2 separate regions of the Homo sapiens genome follow, and region 1 is linked to region 2. Evidence: promoter capture Hi-C in 16 types of primary human blood cells and fetal thymus (Javierre and others, 2016). All regions are on one chromosome and are shown on one strand. Each heading gives the region's core, a stretch centred on a gene start or on the middle of the fragment in contact. The rest is flanking DNA. Distances are from core to core; before and after follow the strand shown.

The links. Contacts are between HindIII fragments. The CHiCAGO score rates a contact against its expected background, and 5 or more counts as called.
Region 1: a contact is called between a fragment that was not itself captured here and the fragment with the promoter of MITF in region 2, in 1 of 17 cell types (M2 macrophages). The highest score is 5.1, in M2 macrophages.

Annotation. Positions count from the first base shown.
Region 1 is chr3:69,820,348-69,823,858 of GRCh38, forward strand. The region is part of intron 1 of MITF (melanocyte inducing transcription factor); the gene reads left to right. Among named protein-coding and RNA genes, the nearest start is that of MITF, 83 kb to the left of the region's middle. The HindIII fragment of the contact is 934 bases long and covers 1,044-1,977 here.
Region 2 is chr3:69,738,087-69,741,427 of GRCh38, forward strand. It overlaps MITF (melanocyte inducing transcription factor), which reads left to right and starts at 1,378. Exons shown (of 10, transcript NM_001354604.2): 1 at 1,378-1,615. The coding sequence starts at 1,512. RefSeq lists a promoter at 1-1,514 and a silencer at 1,314-1,613. The HindIII fragment of the contact is 10,451 bases long and covers 1-3,341 here.

The sequences.
Region 1 (3,511 bases), core at 261-2,760, 82 kb after region 2:
CACTTTGATGTGACTCTTTACTCTGGAGTAGATCAGATATGGAATCCAAACCTTGGAATTTCTAAGTTAGCTTCTTAGTAACTTACAGTTTAAATGTAGCAATGAAAACAAGAGTAGGATTTTTTTTTTTCAGTTGTAAAAGAAATTTCTAGAAACTAAGAGCTTTACAGAGCTTAAAATTTATTCTCATTGTTTTATTTTTAAACTCTAAGTTTCTGCCAGGACAAAAATGTTCAGTTCTTTTTGGATTCTGATGGCCTGGTAAAACTTCTTTGTAAACCTAGGGGATGTGATAGAATTGGCACAGGAGAAAATTAATTTGGTTGGGATCCATGAATGGAATGGAGGTGATGTGCAGGCCTTGCAGTCTGTTGTAATCAATCATTATAGAAGTTTTGCTGCGATGCTGGCCTGCCCAACACTCTGCACTTTGGGCAACATCGTGAAAAGATATCTTCCTGTAGATCCCTGCTCTGGTGCAATACAAGTGTCAACATAGAAATAGAATGTGTGTTATTATAGGCCACATATATACACATTCAATAAAATGTCTCAGCATTTACTCGTGTGTGTGTGTGTGTGTATGTGTCTGTGTGTGTGTTCTGGAAAAAAGTTAAATGAGATTTTCCACAACTTTTTAAAAAAATTTCAGCCTCGTTGTAGGATATTTTCCAAACCCACATTTTCCAGCAATTTGAGCCCCAAACTTATAGCAATGAGGCACTTTCTTGACAAAGGTGAGTCAAAAACAGGAACCCTTTGATTCTGTTTGTCACATGATGCTGGATGTTATAAAATAATAATAGCAAGGAGTTCATTTCTTTCCCTTTGATCGTCAGACTTTTAGCTGCTTCACTTCCATTGCTAAAGCCAGGAATTCAGAAGTGTAGGTCAGATGCTGTGCGTAGAAAATGCATTTGGGAGCATACACATTAAATGGGTTATAAATAGTATCTGCCCTGACAATGCTGGAATTTTCTCAGCTTTTAGAGACATTGAAGTCTTTGTTTTGTGGGTTGCTGCCCTCCACCCCCAACCCCCTAAGCTTGAGTCATAAAGCCTGAAAAACTAATGAGGTTGCTGAAACTTAAAATCTAATTGGTAGGATGTATGGAAAACAATGAGAGATGGCAGAAACCGTACACTTCGATTCAAGTTGGCTTCTCTGTTGCAGCATTGCAACTTGCTCACTTTGCATTTTATTGTTCCAGGTCCTTGAATTAATTTTTTCCTTCAATAGGATCAAATTAGACCTAGATTTAAAAAAAACTCATAAGTAGATAACCATCAAGGCTAATATTAGGATCCTAAAGTCTTCATTTAGAAAAGGAAAAAAAAAAACTAAAAAAAAAAAAAAAAGCAAAAGTTCAAACGGGATTTTCTTTTTAATTTTAAAATTTTATTTTATTATGCTTTTTGAGACTGAGTCTCACTTACTCTGTTGCCCAGACTGGAGTGCAGCGACGTGATCTCGGCTCACTGCAACCTCTGTCTCAGGGGTTCTTGTGCCTCAGCCTCCCGAGTAGCTGGGATTACAGGCACATGCCACTATGCCTGGCTAATTTCTGTATTTTTAGTAGAGATGGGGTTTCGCCATGTTGGCCAGGCTGGTCTAGAACGCCTGGGCTCAAGTGTTCCACCCGCCTTGGCCTCTCAAAGTGGTGGGATTACAGGCATGAGCCACCATGCCCAGCCCAAACTGGATTTTCTTGATAGTCTCTCTCTCTCAGAAATATTTTGCTCTTATCTTCTGAGTTTATAGATGATATTTTACAACAAAGGTCTACAAACTATAAACCACACCTGGCCTGTCAGCATCTTCATGGATGCCCCTACAATTAAGAATGATTTTCACATTGAATGTTTTTCCCCCCAGCCGTTTAATGTTGAAAAAACAAACAGAGAAAGAACATGTGGTAGACATCATACCTGGCCCACCAACCCTGCAATATTTGCTATCTGGCCCTTTACCTACAAAGCTTGCTGGCCCCTGGTTTAGAATGTGCTTGCTGTGTCACCCTTGCTATTAGATATGTAATCAGATAAAAAGTTTCTTTCTTGGATTTTGTTAATTCACCCATTGAATATTTCTGGAGTATTTATTCCATTCCTGGCACTGTCATAGGCACTGGGGAAATGAAGTGTAAAAAGTCACACCAAAACACAGACTAAAGGGCATATTTCAAAAGTGACAGAGCTTGCATTCCTGTCGAGAGAAAAAGACCAAACCTAACCAACCCGAACAGAAACAAGAAATGAAAAACTTAATTACCAGGAAAATAAACCAGCTGAGTATGAGATAGATAATAACAGCAATTTCTGTGCTTCCCCCCTTGAACTGCACTATGGAATGGTGACTAAGTTATTTCCCACATTTTGAATTCACCCACCCACATACAAACACCAAATACTTGCTTGCTTTCCCCAAGTCATTTCCTCATTTTTAATTTTATTTTTTTCCTAAAGTCTTTTTGCCCCAGCTGAAATTCATTACTCAACCCCGTCTTATTGAGTACTTTAGTTTGGTGTTTCCAAGGTTTATTTATTTGGTGTTTGTTTTTTTTTTTTTCTTGAAAGAGTCTCACTCTGTCACCCAGGGTGAGTACAGTGGTGCAATCTCGGCTCACTGCAAGCAATTTTCCTGCTTCAGCCTTCTGAGTAGCTGGGATTACAGGTGCATGCCACCACGCCTGGCTAATTTTGGTATTTTTAGTAAAGATGGGGTTTTGCCATGTTGGCCAGGCTGGTCTCGAACTCCTGACCTCAGGTGATCTGCCCACCTCTGCCTCCCAAAGTGCTGGGATTATGGACATGAACCGCTGCACTCGGCCTCATCCTTTTTTTAAATTAGCTTTTCTGTGTCTTTAGACTTAAGGCTTGTTGCTTGTATGCAGCATATAGTTGGATTTTGATCCTTACTCTTTGTCTTAGCAGCTCAGGCTGCTATCATGAAATACCATAGACTGGTAGCTTACACAACATATTTATTTTTCACGGTTCTGAAGGCTAGGAAGTTCAGATCAAGGTGCTGGCAGATTTGATTCCTGATAAGAAGGTCTCTTTCTGTCTGGCAGATGGCTGCTTTCTCACTGTATCCCCAGAGAGCCAAAGAAGCTCTCTGGTGTCTCTTCTAATAAGGGCACTAATGCCATCCTGGGGGCCCCATTCTCATGACCTCATCTAAACTCAATTACCTCCCAAAGGCCCCACCACCGAATATCATCATATTAAGATTAGGGCTTCAACATATGAAGACAACAGTCTTTTATGCTTTTTCCCCCTTTTTTGGTAAATATGTATTATGGATTATAGTTATTTTATTTATTTTAGTATCAGAATCTTTCCTCAGATCTGACATTCTCTAAAACTTTTGTGATCTGCACCAAAGTAAGTTACAGACAAATGTTTGCTTGTTTCCTTTATTTTGGATCTTTTCTGTAAGAATTCTTTGTGATACTACCAGATTAGTAATCCTGCTCTCCTAAGCATACTGAGTGGTAGCCTATGATTT
Region 2 (3,341 bases), core at 128-2,627:
AAATTAAAATGTTTCAGTGGGAGGCAAGATATGCAAAGGGGTAACTCCTGGGAGGTGCCCAGTTGTCACTGTAGCCTCTTTAGAATTTTCTCCTAGGACAGTCATTTAGTTTATTAATTCTGAAAGGCCAAACACCAAAATGAGATGTTAATCTGAAAGGAATAACTTCAAGACCTAATAAAGAATGACCACTGAGCAGAGTTTTTATAGATTGCAAATCACTTTCTCTTACATTTGACCTTGCAACATCTTCTAAAACTGGTTTGCCAATCTCTTCTTTTATGGATGAAGAAATGGAGGCTTCTAGGAACCAAGTGACATGCTCAGGATTGCACAGCTCTTCTTAGAAGGACTGGGGATTTCAACTCTGAGTCTTATACCTTTAAATGCCACTGTAACTCTATACTGCCTCCCTGATGCCTCAAAACACTTTTGAAAAGAAGGAACACGTCCTACTGGAGCTAATCAGAGGGAAGAACTAGAAGTACAAATGAGCCACAACGGAGAGTTTTAAAATTCTCTTCCCTAAGTGAGTTCCGGGAAGCTCGGGAAGGGGTGGACACTTGTACAGTTCACTTGTACATCTTCACTCCTGAAATGCTAGGACAAATCTCATTTGAACTCCCAGTCAACTGAGAAATTAAAAGCAGAGAGCAACGACGCTATTTTGTAACTTTGTGCCTTTTAAAATTAACCGAATCTTTCAATTGCTGCTGTAGATTAGAAGTGGCTACTTGGATAAAGGGGAAAGAGCCATTCAACTGATGAATACTATTGTAAAAGTCCAGACTTAGTTCTAGAAAAGGAACGCACAAGAACAATTTCTCCAATAACGTTTTCATTACAGAGCGAAGGAAAGTTCTTCCTCGTTGTTCCAATCCGAGGACAAGCTGATATGTCGCAGCAGCCCAGGGAAGCATGCGAGCTGATAGGAAGTCCTTTTATTTTAAGACAGGCTCGAATGCTAAAACTTTCTTGTGCCAAAACCCTTGACTATTTTATTTTTAAAATAAGCACTTGGCGTGCCCTCGCAGATGTCTGAGCTGAGAGGTCGGGGCGATGGTAGAAGAGCAGTCAGTGTCCATTCTTATTCATATTAAGTAGCCAAGTCTGTACCCTTGAAGCAAGTGGGGAGAGAGGAGGGAGAGGAGCTGCTGACATTGACAATGAATCCAAACAGGAGTTGCACTAGCGGTGTCCACCACGTTGCCTCTCCCCCGCCTGGCCTTCTGGGAGCTGTAGTTTTCGTGGGAGCGGCTCCCCAGGCGAGCTGGGAATGCCCCGCCCGGGCCGAACTACAGATCCCAGGCGGCGCTCGGCCGCCAGCCCCTCCCGCCCGGGTGCGAGTGTAAACTCCCCGCGCTGGGGCGGGCGGCCGCGAGCCGGCGAGCGGGCAGAGCTCGGCACTGCGCCGGGGCGCACGGCTCGGGGGACCCAGGCCCAGCTACCTTCCCTCCGCCCCCGGGCTCTGTTCTCACTTTCCAGCAGTGGAAGGACGGGAAGCGGGAGCCATGCAGTCCGAATCGGGGATCGTGCCGGATTTCGAAGTCGGGGAGGAGTTTCATGAAGAGCCCAAAACCTATTACGAACTCAAAAGTCAACCGCTGAAGAGCAGGTGAGTGGTGACAGCTGGGCAGAGGCGCACCGGGCGGCTGGGGGGCACTGCGTCTGCCACTCTGGGGCGAGGAGAGCGGGTCGCGGGAGCTCTGGGACAAGGACCCAGTGCCCTTGCCCCGGAGCAGAGGGCGAACTGCCCCTCGCAGTTGGGGGCCGCGCCTGCCCGGCCCAAGTGCGCCTTTAGGAAGCTCGGATGGAGCGCACTTCGCGGGGGCGCGGCGGGTCGCCGGGGACGAAGCGTCCAGGCGCGGGGACCCTCGGCCGAGGATGCCAGCTGCTGAGACTGATTGGGGGCTGGGGAGCGACCTGGCGCGATGTGGGGGAGGAGGAGCGCCGGGCCGGGACGCTGTCCCGGTGGGATGGGGGAGAAAGAGTTCTAGTGAACCCCCTTTCTGAAGATCCCAGCGGGTTGAGGGCTCGGAGAGGGAGAGCTTTGGGTGGACTGAGATGCGACATTGGAGGGAAGCAATTAGTTCGCTTGGAGTCACCTCTTGGGAGTCCGGTCTCTGTGGGGAAACTAGCCTCTGGGCTCCTGCAGGTGAGGTTTCTCTGGGCTCCGCCTCTCACCTCCAGACCGCTGCTAGCGGGCGCGGGAGGGGCCAGGGCAGCGGTGGGCGTGTCCCCTTGTTCAAGTTAAACTCTCTGGAAATAGAGTCCCATTCAAATCCAGGCCTTACCTGCAGAGGGGAAATGAGCCTTGGTCTTGGGGGTTACTGGGAGTGTACCCCGCTTGGCAGAGACACGTGTTTAATTCGCTGGGGACTTCAGAAACTTTTTAGACGAGGAGTGAAGACATCCACTGCTCTGATGCCCCATCCCCTCTAGTGCCCACTTCCCTTGAGCCACCCTTTTTGCTGCCTCCATTCCCACTTGTCTGTCGAAATGGATTGGGTGTCTTCCGTTCTCTCTGTCCGGCAGCCACTCTGGACGCCTCGTACTTCTCGTTTACAATGTTTCCTAAAAGGGACATGGTCAATGGAGGCTGGAATAGCTGAGAAGGGTTTATTTCCACCCCTCTAAGCTGTGAGCTAGGATAAGGCTATCATTGGAAGCATCCAGCAGGGCTTCTGCACTCGGCTGTAACTTCCTGCCTTGCCCTTCGCTGTGGATGGGGCCTGGGTGAATGGGCCTGGCTGGCAGAGTGGGAGAGGGTCTTGAAATGAGGGTGAGTGGAGAAGGGCAACTGAACGGGGAGCCAAGTGGTGTAATCTTGGCCTCTGGCGAGCACTGGGCTGGTTCTTTTTCTAGTGGAAAGTGCAGCCAGGTTTATTTCCTTCAGGGCTGTGGCAGGACTCTTTATCCAAGTTGGGGAAGAAAATCTGGGAACAGCGGTCCTACTGACTGCCATTGCTGAAGACTCTTTGTAGATGCTTCACGGCAGATTGGAAGGAAACCGCCTAAGCAGTTGGACGTATAAAACCAGCCTTTAGTTGGTGGTTTTTCCTCATAATGGCTGTTTTGTGTGTGAGCATAGATTGTGTGTGTTGGGGGCTGGGGGTTTTGAGTAATATTGTGTGAAGGGTATTGTTGGTTATGCTCATCAGGGCTTTATCTGCATTCGGCTGAAGGGACCAGTGTTTTACTGGGCAGTCTCTGCTTTTGCTTCTATAAGCAAATGCTTACACGGCCAGAATGAGGGAATGAGTGTGTGTGTGGAATCCTGAAAGAAATAAATTAACCGGACTGTTTGGAACATTTCTGATGGTAGCTGATACATAACATTA